Regions from separate parts of the Homo sapiens genome. Here all the other regions are linked to region 1. Evidence: promoter capture Hi-C in 16 types of primary human blood cells and fetal thymus (Javierre and others, 2016). All regions are on one chromosome and are shown on one strand. The core of a region is centred on a gene start or on the middle of the fragment in contact, and the rest is flanking DNA. Distances in the headings are between cores, read along the strand shown.

Region 1 (3,943 bases), core at 701-3,200:
CCCTAACAAGTTACTGGCTGCTGGAGGTCATGCCAGGTGGCCTCATCAGGTTGTCTTTAGTCCCTGTTGGTGATATGAGGAGGAAAAAGGTGGCCCTGTAGATGGAGGCCCCAGCCACTCCTATCTGTCTAAACAAACTTGGTCTGGATCTTCTCAAGCATCAAACAAAGTATATAGCTCCTTATAGCTCTTAGGGACTGGGTATTTTGATGGCCTGAGAGAGAGTCCTAGTCAGATTACCTGGGACAGATGGTGGAAATCCCCGTTTTCCATAGGCCAAGTGAGAAGGAATGATTGCCCTTCGCTTCTCTCTGAGGGAAGGAATGTCAGTCACAGCCAGAGGCAGGAGAGGTAGGCCAGCAGCCTCAGTCCAGCTGAAGCTCCTTCAGCAAAACCCCCTGAATCTTCACACCCAAAACACGAATTTTTCCACCTGAACACCAAACAGGCTGGCCAGCAAAGGTGTCCATCTCCCCATGTGCCTCAACTCCCCCGACAAAAGCAACAGCGCAAGAGGCACAGAGGCTTTGAATGCCCTCAGAGGTCCCACTGACCTGGACCTGTCCAGTGGGAAGCAGGGTCCTTTATTCCACATTCTCCTGCTTAAGGAGTGAGGATGGCCGAGAAAGCCTCTACCCATGCAAAGGGGGTACCCAGGCCCACCCCTGCCGAGATACTCACCCCACACACATGTCGAGAAGACTCTGCTCCAGACCTTGAAGAAGAAGACACAACTGAACTGGAAGCTATCCACCTTCCCCAAATCCCATGACATGAAGATCAAAGTCTTCCTCCTCCATCCTCAATTGACCTTTCCCTCACTTCTTAAATCTCTGGCTTCCAATAGGATATGGGACAAGTGGAGTACTAGAAGTGAGGTTTGAACCTCAGGAGGTAACTCGTAGAGCCCTAGGGTCTTACTCATTTCAGGGGGGATTTCCAGGGCAGCTTTGGAGCCGAAGAGGCTAAGAAAGGGCTTAGGTTGGGAAGAGGTGGAATGGGAGGCACAGGTCACATACCTGGAATCACCTGCTTTTGGCCAAGTTCTATAACCAGAGGGTCTCTGGTCAGGGAGGTGTCAATAATACGTCCATCTACCAAGCTTCCCTGGGGGGAGAGAGCATCAAGAGCATACATCTAGCACCCTCTCCCTCCCAGCAGGCGCGCAACACACACCTGGACCGCTGGGCGGCGGCAGCCCCCTTAGTGCGGCAGCCTAGCGTTCCCCTTACCGCTGTAAGGAACAGGAAGCCCCAGAAGGCTGGCGCTTCTCGGAGATCTCTCCACCCTGCACTTCTCCGTGCCAGGTAGGAACTGGCAGAAAAGCAAGGAGGGAAAAGAGGCACGGAAGAGCAACGTCTCTCCCCTCGCCACGTGCTCGACGACCCCAGAGCCCCGAGTTTCTTCTCCCGAACCGCTTGCCACGTGTCCAAGCCAAAGCTGACGTGTTTCAGCAGGGCGCCGCCCCCTCCCAGGCCCCGCCCCGGCCCCCCAGACCCCTCACCGTGTAGTGTATGTGAAGCGTGTCTCCAAAAGCAGCGGGCTCGGCACATGGTTCTGGGGGCTCCACCTACGATCGGACTACAGGGGTCACGGATGCTCTTCCAAAGATCCCGTTCTCGCCCCTAGACCCGGCACCACCCCCAACTCAGTTCCCGCACTTCCTCTCCTCCCGGCTCCCAGGTTCGCTGAGACCCCAGTATTACCACCCAACAAGGCTCGGCCCACGGGGGCTGAGGGTCGGGACTATCTCCTCACCAGGGTCTCCACTTGGAGGGTCCGGACGGGACTTTCGGTTTCGAGCCCAGCCTCAGCCCGGCACACCGCCGCACTGAGCAGCAGCAGCAGCAGCAGATGGAGCGGGAGGAGTGAGGGGCGCAGGGTCATGACTGGGCGCGGGGCAGGGAGCCGGGGCACCAGGACAGGCTGTTCGGGTGGCGGCAGCCAGGACAGCGTTCCCGCGGCGCCCAGGCCAGACTGGACGGGACGGGGCGGGTCGCGATGCTAGAGCTCCTCCTCCTGCAGCCCTTCCTCCACCTTGTCCCCACCTCCGAAAGGGAGGAGGCCGAGGGGCGCCCTCTGTACCCTCCAAGATCCGGAGGGCGCAGGTTCTGACGCATCCGTTAGACGTTCTGTCCTATAACGTGGGTCGGGCCAAACAATAGCACCCATTTACGATTACCTACTGTGTGTCAGGAGCTAGTCTCTAATCCTCAAAACCACCCTGAAAGGTCGGCATGATTGTTTCCATTTTACAGATAAGGCACAGGGTGCTCAGGATGTGCCCAAGGTCATCAGGCTAGGTGGTGACAGAGACAGGATTCAAACCCAGGACTGCCTGAGTCCAACGTGGTTGCTGTCTGTTCTTCCAAGTCGTCTCCTTGTGGCTATCCTGGCAGTGTCTGGCTGGCAGACCCCACCCAGGCAGTTCTCATTCCTCTCCGACCTCCAGCTACTTCAGCTTGAATTTCTGGAGGTTATAGATCCAAGTATCCGAAATAAGGCAGGGGGCTGTCCTATCCCTGTCCTTTGAAAAGCTAGCTGAAAAGAGCAAGGAGCTGTTATCCTGTAAGAACAGGGTAAATCCCTGATCTTTTCCTCTGGTGCTACTATTTCCTTTCTCCTTTCATCAACAAACTTCTCAAAGGGCAGCACACGTAATCCATTTATGTAAAGACTTCACTTTTTTTTTTTTTTTTTTTTTTGAGATGGAGTCTCGCTCTGTGGCCCAGGCTGGAGTGCAGTGGTGCCATCTCCACTCACTGCAACCTCCGCCTCCCAGGTTCAAGCGATTCTCCTGCCTCAGCCTCCCAAGTAGCTGGGATTACACCCGCCACCACGCCCGGCTAATTTTTGTATTTTTAGTAGATAAGGGGTTTCACCATGTTGGCCAGGCTGGTCTCAAACTCCTGATGTCAGGTGATCCGCCTGCCTCGGTCTCTCAAAGTGCTAGGATTACAGGCGTGAGCCACCAGATTTCTTTTTTTTTTTTTTTTTTTGAGGGGGAGGAGTTTTGCTCCTGTTGCCCAGGCTGGAGTGCAATGGCGCGATCTTGGCTCACCGCAACCTCTGCTCCCGAGTAGCTGGGACTACAGGCATGCGCCACCATGCCCAGCTGATTTTGAATTTTTAGTAAAGACAGGGTTTCTCCATGTCTGTCAGGCTGGTCTCGAATTCCCAACCTCAAGTGATCCACCCACCTCGGCCTTCCAAAGTGCTGGGATTACAGGTATGAGCCACCACGCCCAGCCCACTTTTTAAAAGTTTTTGTTGTTGTTGTTTGTTGAGACGGAGTTTCACTCTTGTCGCCCAGGCTGGAGTGCAATGGCACGATCTTGGCTCACTGCAACCTCCACCTCCCGGGTTCAAGCGATTCTTTTCTCTCAGCCTCCCGAGTAGCTGGGATTATAGGCACCCACCACCACGCCTGGCTAATTTTTGTATTTTTAGTAGAGATGGGGTTTCGCCATGTTGGCCAGACTGCTCTCAAACTGCTGACCTCGTGATCCGCCAGCCTCAGCATCCCGAAGTGCTGGGATTACAGGCGTGAGCCAATGCGCCCAGCCAACAGTCTTAACTGTACTCATTCTTCCAATCCACCTGCAACAACCTAGACTTCCTCCCTATCTCCTGTTTCTGTTAGTGGCTCTGCTACCAGCATTCGTTCTTCTCTCATCTCCCACATCCAACGGGTCTACTCTGGATTCTCCTTCCAAAGTCTCTCCAGCTCTTCCCTTCCATTCCCATAGCTACAACCCTCCCACCTCAGGATAAGAAGCCTTCATTATCTCTCATTTGTATTGTTTAAAAAAAAAAAGTCCCCTCAGCAGGAGGGAATTTCTAGGGGTGATGAAATGCTCTATATTTTCAGAAGGATGTGGGTTACATGGGTGTATGCATTTGTCAGAACTTATCAAACTGTATACTTACAATCTGTGCATTT
Region 2 (3,943 bases), core at 860-3,359, 74 kb after region 1:
CCCGGCCTCCCGCCCTCAGCTTCGCCCCCGCGGCCCCCGCCGGGCTGGTGTAAAAGGCGACTGCTCGACAGCCGCTTTTGACAAGGGGAAGGAAAGACCGTGGCCCCTTCACCCTCCTCCTTGCCGGGCTTCGATTGGCTGGGGGAATCCCCCACCACGCGTGTCACCCCAGAGGGCAAAAGCTGCACCTGCTGGGTTCGGGGGGTTGGAACATATTGGGATCGTATCACTACGCACGTGGCGTCAATGACAAAGACGCCTTCCCCACGGGACAGGCCCTGGGAACTGCGGGGCAAGGTGTGGGCACGGCGGGTCGCCTTCCAACCCTCCAGGGTCTCCGGTCCTGCCCCCTCTCCAAGACCCAGAGATTCTCTCCATCCGGTGCCTCCGGGAGCCCAGGGTCTGGGGAGTGTCTGGCTATGGCGGGGCGGCTGCTTTTTAGGGGAGGGAATCCAGCATTTGGGAAACCAGATCTGTTCTCCTTCTTTCCCTTCCCTCGAGCCCTTGAGGTGGTGCCTGGATCTGGGAGCGGGATGCGGGGCACAGGGAGCCGCAGTTGCAGACCCCGCAGGAGCTATCTCGGTGCCTGCGCTCCCTGTAGCTTTGGCTTGGGGATGGCTGTCGCTACCACTGTTCAGGTCAGCAGCAGCCAGCCCCAGGCTTTTCTCCACGACCCCCTTGCCGGGCTCTGGCCTTGCTCTGGCCGCTCCACAGCCTGGGGATCCCCCCAAGAGACCTTGCCCCTGTCGGAGACCCCAAGCCCCGAGGACGTCCCGGTAGATCCGAGGATCCAGCCTCTTCTTTGTGCGCCCTCCGTCTGTCCTGGCTGGAGTCGCAGCTGGGGCTGATGAAGTGGGCACCTGAGAGTTCCCGGGGCCTCTCTTAGTCCCCAAGGTCCTATGGGGGCCTTCGTAAGAAGGTGGAGCCACGTAGGGTGGCGGCCGGTCCCAGCGGCGTCGTGGGGCGGTCCCGGCAGAACCTCTCAGCAGCAGGTGAGCCTCGTAGCTTGGGGGCCCGGGCCGCCGACCTCCCCAGGGCCCCGCCCACGCCGACCCTGGGTCGCTCTGCGGCTGCGCGGATGGACGGGGCGCTCGCCCCACAGGCGCCAGGCGCTCCGGCCGCAAGGGAGCAGGGAGCCCTGCCAGCTGGGCCACCCGAGGGGCGTTGCGGGGCTCCGGGCGGGGTCGACCCGGGGGGCTCCGTCGGGCCCCACCAGCCTTGCGCCTTTTTCGCTCGGTCTCCTTGGCCTCCCGCTCCTGCGACGCCGCTTTCCTTTTCTCTTGCTCCCGAGCTCGGACCTCGGCCAGGGGCCCCGCCCGCCAGTTGGTCGCCTCCTGCAGCACCCTGGAGGCCCAGGGCCGGCGGGGCGGCGGCTGTGGGGATCCCGGGCGCGGCCCACACCTGGGACAATGAGCAGGAACCCAGGTGAGCAGTTTGTGGGGGAAGGGAGCCGAGGTCCGGGGAGCTGGGAGCACTGGAGACCACTTGGGGCAGCCATGTGAAGGGGTGTGTGTGAGTGTGTGCGCGTGTGCACGTGCGTATATGTTAGGACTGAAGTCGAAGCGGGACTCCTCGCCATCTCTCCATGCACACTTTAACAGCGTCTGCCCCATCTCACCTCCTGCCCTTTCTCACACCCACTTCTGTTCCCCCAAACAACGGGATGAGTCAGGCCCCAGCCCTCGGGAGCGGGCAGAGGTGGAAGGCGTGGGAAAGAGAAGGGGGACCAGCAGTGCTCGCTGGTGCCTGCGGGGAGGTCCGGACCCCACTCCCCGCCCCACCACTCTCTTCCCCTCACCCCTGCTTCACTCACGTGCGGTTCTGGAACCCGCGAGCCCAGTGGCTGGCCTGGAAGTCCATGGGCTGTCGAGAAGGGGCGCGGCGACTATAATGACAGGAAATAGTCTTCACTTCTATCACCAATAGCTTGGACTTCTGCACCCAGAGGCAGCTGCCAGACTCCTCATCCTGGAGCTCCCGGGGGCTGTCAGGCCCCTCGGAGAACAGTGGGCCATCCAGCATCCTGCCCCACCCCACCCCGGCCCCCCACCCTCCCACCCGCCCCAGGAGCCCCCTCCCAGCCCAGGGAGCCGGCGCCCACTGCAGAGCCGCGGGCCCGGGGACTGGGAACTATATATACCCGGGCACACGTGTGTGTGCCTGTCTCTGTGTGTGCGCGCGCATGTGACACCGCGCGGACTGCTCCGCGCTGCTACCTCCCCCATGTGCACGGCCGCCCCCTGGGGCCCGGGATTGGACGCCCCTTCCCACTGCTGTTGTCCCCCAAGCCTGATGGGATCGCACGAGTGGGCGGGGGAGGGACTTATGATTCTTGCCAAGCTGACAGTGCCCCCTCCCCCGCCCCTATTTCTTCAACCTTCCTGCCGTTTTAACCCTTTACTCTCCTGCTTGTCAGGTTGCCTGACCACCAGGGTTCTGCCCCTGGCTTCCTGCCTCAGATTTCAGTTTCCCCAACATAGAGTGATGAGATTGGAACTCAAGGTCTCTGCCTGCCACTCTGCTGGTTTCCATGGGGCTGGGGTGCAGGAGGGGCTGGCCCACGGCTGGGGGGCTATTTTTAGCGGCAGTGGCTGTTCGGGTGCAGAGATGAGATGAGTAACCAGCTCCCATGCGGTGGAGAGAGGAGGCGGTGGCTTTTACCAAGCTTTTGTGCGACTCTGAGGGAGAGCTGCCTTCCCTAAGCTCAAAAAGGGTGACCCCTACACCCGTATCTCCTTGTCAGCTCAGTGCTGCAGCCTAGGACTGCTGGTACAGCAGGACACAGGCGTCTGCCTTGGCCACCCAAGCTGCCCTACCAGTTCCATTCTACATGTTTGTCCTTGGGCAGCCAGGGAGCCCTCCCACAGCAGCAGGCTTTCACCTCCAATCCAGAAGCCAGGATTTGGGGGTTATATTGTTCTGTGCCCACACAGCCTGCCCAGCTTTATGGAGGACAGAGTAAGTGCTTATGCACTCTCACCCTTCCAGAGGGGGATGGAGGAGAAATGATGTGTTTGCTTGGCAAAACTAATCCCCTAGCAACTGAAATGATAAAAGTGGCCTTTATTTTTTTCAATGTAGAACTCCCCCTCACCACCACCACAATGCCTAGTTCACTCAGTCCCCACCTTAAGTGGTGCTCCAGATGCTCACCTTTTGGGCTGCCTCTGTCCTGGGGGGCTGTTGCTTATATCCACATGATCCCTCCTCCTAAGCTTATACCAGGTGTCCCCTGATTCACCATGGTAATGTTAGTGGCAGCACAGCCCACGCCAACCCTTCCATGCAGAGACTTAGCAACCATGCCTGGCAACCATGGCAGCAGCTTCAGTGGAGGGGAGCAGTGCAGAGAGAGGGGAGAGTGTGTGGGGCATGGTTCCTCGGGAAGAAGGGATAATTTGCCTCTCTGGAGAGGAATAGGTAAGAATAGAAGCTTGTGAGTCTCCCAAATTTCATCCCTTGTCTCTCCCTCAGCTTCATCCTCACACTGAGACGGATAGGTTGGGTTTTAGAGGGAAATGGGAGAAGCAAGAGTTCCCAATTAGTTTTCCACTAATGTACATGGAGCCCTTTGGGTCCAGACCCTTCCTTTTAAGGGGATGGGGAACAACCAGAAAGGTTGTGGGGCAGAGACTGACAGACTGAGAAACAACTCAACAAAACCAGGTCTCTGCTCCCTAACACAAACCTTTAGAGAGAACGCAAACATCCCGTCCCATCCACCCTACCCCCCTTGATTCCACACACCTGCCAGCTGCACTGATGACTTGACTCGAAGATGCTTCCTTCCACCCTAGGTCCCACTAGAGTCCTGAGGCTTTTTAAAGCCCTTGCCTCCTCCCTAGGCAAATCTTCCTTAATGAGGGAATGTGACATAAGGGGCCATCTGTCCTTTCCACCATGTGCTTACCCTCCTGACACATAAACATACTCTAATTCTAAT
Region 3 (3,943 bases), core at 709-3,208, 68 kb before region 1:
CTACTGTGGTACTCCTGTAGTCCTAGCTACCCAGGAGGCTGAGGTAGGAGGGTCAGGAGGGTGATCAGGACGGTGAACCAGGAGGGTGAGGTTGCAGTGAGCAGTGGTCATGCCACTGTACTCCAGCGTGGGCGACAGAGTGAGACCCTGTCTCAAAAAAAAAAAAAGAAAAATCTCGTAAGTGCCCCGACCCATAGTAAACATTTAACAAATGTTAGCTCTTATCATTTATGAGTCTAAATGTGATCATGTAAAGCCCTCAACACAGTGCACAGTGCTGAACACTCATTAAGTACATGCTAACTTTATTTATTTATTTATTTATTTAGAGATGGAGTCTCCCTCTTTTGCCCAGGTTGGAGTGCAGTGGCGCAATCTTGGCTCACTGCAACCTCTGCCTCCCGGGTTTAAGCGATTCTCCTGCCTCAGCCTCCCGAGTAGTTGGGATTACAGGCACGTGCCACCATGCCCGGCTAATTTTTGTATTTTAGTAGAGATGGGGTTTCACCGTGTTAGCCAGGATGGTCTCGATCTCCCGACCTTGTGATCCACCTGCCTCAGCCTCCCAAAGTTCTGGGATTACAGGCTTGAGCCACCGCGCCTGGCCTAGTACATGCTAACTTTATTTCTGGCACTAGCACTACACTATGGCACTTGGAAAACAAGAGCTATAAGTCACTGAGAAAGGAAGTTAAGAGTTAAGGCCCCTGAGCTGCCATCAGTAGGCATCGGAATTGGAAGGTCATGAAGGCAAATGTCACCTCTCCTTGAACTCAGAGGAGACCAGAATCCCAGGAGCCTCCCCCAGCTTTGGCTTAGTCTGTCCACCTTCTATGTGGGGTGGAATCTCAGCAGCTTGGATCCTCTACTGATGATTTCATCCAACCTTTTTCTCTCCTCTAGACTCTCCAGGGCAGTGGTTCTCAACCAGAATTTTTCCACAGGGGCCATTTAGCAACGTCTGGAGACATTTTTGGGTGTGATAGCTGGAGAGTGGGGTGCTGTCTTCTAGCATCCACCAGATCAGGGACACTGCTAAACATCTTGGGCTGCATAGGACAGTCCCTCACAACAAAGCATTATCCAGTCCAAAATGTCAATAGTTCCAGGGTTGAGAACCCCTGCACCCCTGCTCTCGGGCTAAGGAGCCCTTCCTTGGTTTAGTAGGTCTTGGGTGGGGCTAGGGCAGGGGGATGGGGGAAGAGAGAAGCTCCTTCTTGGAGGAGCTGGGGAATGGTGGAGGCAGCCCCTCTGCAACCCACAGAAAGGGTCCCAGGACAGCTTTTCTCTCATTATCATCAACCAAAGGGCTCAAGCACGGTGGCTCATGCCTGTAATCCCAGCTCTTAGGGAGGCAGAGATGTGAGGATAGCTTGAGCCCAGGAGTTTGAGACCTGCCTGAGCAATATAGCGAGACCCTGTTCTCCACAAAAAGGAAAAAAAAAAAAGACCAAAAAAAAAAAATACCAATTGTAACAACTAAAGAAAACAGAAAAAAATACGGAGCCAAATTCTTTATATGTATTATATTTTTCATTAATAAATAGGTTTTCTTCATTAAACACAGAACATATAACAGATTGAAACACTCCCCCCCTCCCCCCAATTCCAAAGACAAGAGTCTATAAAACAAATGCCAGCTGTACTACCCTAAGGGCAGAAAAAGTCTGGTGACCCCCACCCAGCCCTGCCCCTGCAGCACCACCACCCCCACACTCTGCAAGAGAAGGGGGTCTGGGGCTTCTCCCTTGGACCCTGGGGACTTAGGTGAGAAGCATGTGAATGTATGATGTCACCTCTCCATGAGGCATGGGCTATGCAAAGATGAGGTTTCCTTCTCATTGGCTCTGACCAGCTCCTGCACTTCCGATTGCAGTTACGAAGCACCTGGGCTAAGCCCCCAAGGGAGCTGCCGCTCCACTTCCCCACTCTCCGTTGCTGCCTCCTTAGAGGGGAAGGGAAGGGCTCAGGGACCCCTCCCATCCCCTGACCTGCATGGAAACGCTGTGTGGAAGAGGCATGAAGCTGAAGGTGAGGCTGCTGTAGGCCCCCAAGCCCATGAGGCCAGCATGCCCCCCGTCCCCCACAGCTTTCCTTCCTCTGGAGCGGGGGGGGCACTGGGGTAGTCGCCCCCTCCAAAATCTAGTGCCTGGCTTGGGGTATGATGGTTCTCTCTCAGCGTCAGGTCCTCATGCCGGGCCTGGCTCCTTCCTCGCCCCATTCCTGTCTCCTTCCAAGCCCTCACCGTGGCCATCTGAAAAACTCATGTCCAGTGTCCTAAATTGTCTCATCCTCCCTCTCCCCGTGCCTCTGCACCCCAAGGGAGGAAGTAGGGGGTTGTCTCCCCCCTCCAATTTCCACTTCACATAATGGAACAGCTTTTGGCCTTTTCCTTCTTGAAGGTAGAAGAGATGAGTTCAGAGCGACTGGGGAGGTGGAGCAGTCGTTTGGAGAGGCTTCGGACAGGGCTCTTCTGGGGCAGTGGGCTAGGCTTGTTCAGACACAGCATGGATGCCGTCCGAAAGATGCTGTGGATGCTCTTTTCTGAGGTGAAAGCTGAGCCTTCCAGGTAGATTTCTGCACCCAGCTGCTTTGCTATTGCACAACCCTGCAGGAGGGGGTGAGGGCATTAATGCAGTGGGCCAAAATGGCTCTGGGACGCTGCCTCTGTGCGTCACTCCCCAGGGCCACTCCAGAGGGGACCCAGCTGCCAGTCTCCAAACACCACCCTCTGCAGATTATTCGATTATCTTTTCTTTTTTTTTTTTTTTTTTGGCATACACCCTGTCTGATGATGCCTCTTTTTCTTAAGACGATGCCTGACTGCACATTATAAATCATCTGGAATACTCTTAAAACTATATTGATGCCAAACTAAATTAGAATTTCTGGGGATAGCTGGGGCAGTGGCTAGTGCCTCTAATCCCAGCTACTCAGGAGGCTGTGATGGGAGGATCACTTGAGGAGGCCAGGAGTTCAAGACCAGCCTAGGTGGCCGGGCGCGGTGGCTTACACCCATAATCCCAGCGCTTTGGAATTACAAAAATAAATCTCAAAAATAAAGATAATAAAATAATAATAAACACTTTTAAAAAATGTTTAAAAATTCACTGGAAGTGGGCACACAACTATAGTCTCAAATACTAGAGAGGATCCCTTGAGCCCAGGAGTTCTGCACTGTAGTGAGCTAGGATCACACCACTGCACTTCATTCTGGGTGACAGAGTAAGACCCTGTCTCTGGAAAAAAAAAAAAAAAAAAAAGGAAAAGGAAAAAAAAATTCTGGGTATAGAGCCAAGGCATTAGTATTCTTCTTTTTCTTTCTTTTCTTTTTTTTTTTTTTTTGAAACAGTCTCGCTCTGTTGCCCAGGCTGGAGTGCAGTGGCGCGATCTCGGCTCACTGCAAGCTCTGCCTCCCGGGTTCACACCATTCTCCTGCCTCAGCCTCCCGAGTAGCTGGGACTACAGGCACCCGCCAACACGCCTGGCTAATTTTTTGTATTTTTAGTAGAGATGGTGTTTCACCATGTTAGCCAGGATGGTCTTGATCTCCTGACCTTGTGATCTGCCCGCCTCAGCCTCCCAAAGTGCTGGGATTACAGGCGTGAGCCACCGCGCCTGGCCGGTATTAGTATTCTTAAGAGCTCCCCAGGTCAGGTGCAGTGGAGGCCAAGGCAGGTGGATCACCTGAGGTCAGGAGTTCAAGACCAGCCTGGCCAACATGGTGAAACCCCATCTCTACTAAAAATAACAAAAATTAGCTGGGCGTGTTGGCAGGCACCTGTAATCCCAGCTACGCAGGAGGCTGAGGCAGGAGAATCTCTTGAACCCGGGAGGCAGAGGTTGCAGTGAGCTGAGATCGCACCACTGCACTCCAGCCTGGGTGACAAGAGCGAAACTCAGTCCCCCAACCCTATGCTCTCATGCACATAAGAAATTATCC

What was found. Contacts are between HindIII fragments. The CHiCAGO score rates a contact against its expected background, and 5 or more counts as called.
Region 2: the fragment with the promoter of DDN here is called in contact with the fragment with the promoter of FKBP11 in region 1 in 6 of 17 cell types (naive B cells, total B cells, erythroblasts and 3 more); the score reaches 7.0 in naive B cells.
Region 3: a fragment that was not itself captured here is called in contact with the fragment with the promoter of FKBP11 in region 1 in 7 of 17 cell types (total CD8 T cells, total CD4 T cells, naive CD4 T cells and 4 more); the score reaches 8.0 in total CD8 T cells.

The regions. Positions count from the first base shown.
Region 1 is chr12:48,923,542-48,927,484 of GRCh38, forward strand. FKBP11 (FKBP prolyl isomerase 11) reads right to left here and starts at 1,951. Exons shown (of 6, transcript NM_016594.3): 1 at 1,759-1,951; 2 at 1,505-1,570; 3 at 1,020-1,107; 4 at 682-715; 5 at 241-311. The coding sequence starts at 1,887. RefSeq lists enhancers at 897-956, 2,217-2,316. The HindIII fragment of the contact is 4,966 bases long and covers 1,101-3,943 here.
Region 2 is chr12:48,997,266-49,001,208 of GRCh38, forward strand. DDN (dendrin) reads right to left here and starts at 2,110. Exons shown (of 2, transcript NM_015086.2): 1 at 1,814-2,110; 2 at 1-1,401. The coding sequence starts at 2,022. DDN-AS1 (DDN and PRKAG1 antisense RNA 1) reads left to right here and starts at 1,082. Exons shown (of 2, transcript NR_147179.1): 1 at 1,082-1,425. RefSeq lists silencers at 1-91, 292-381, 932-1,391, 2,041-2,335 and enhancers at 742-811, 2,481-2,775. The HindIII fragment of the contact is 4,772 bases long and covers 1-2,663 here.
Region 3 is chr12:48,855,634-48,859,576 of GRCh38, forward strand. It overlaps RND1 (Rho family GTPase 1), which reads right to left. Exons shown (of 5, transcript NM_014470.4): 5 at 1,512-2,608. The coding sequence ends at 2,363. Among named protein-coding and RNA genes, the nearest start is that of DDX23, 5.4 kb to the left of the region's middle. RefSeq lists an enhancer at 1,896-1,965. The HindIII fragment of the contact is 7,230 bases long and covers 1-3,943 here.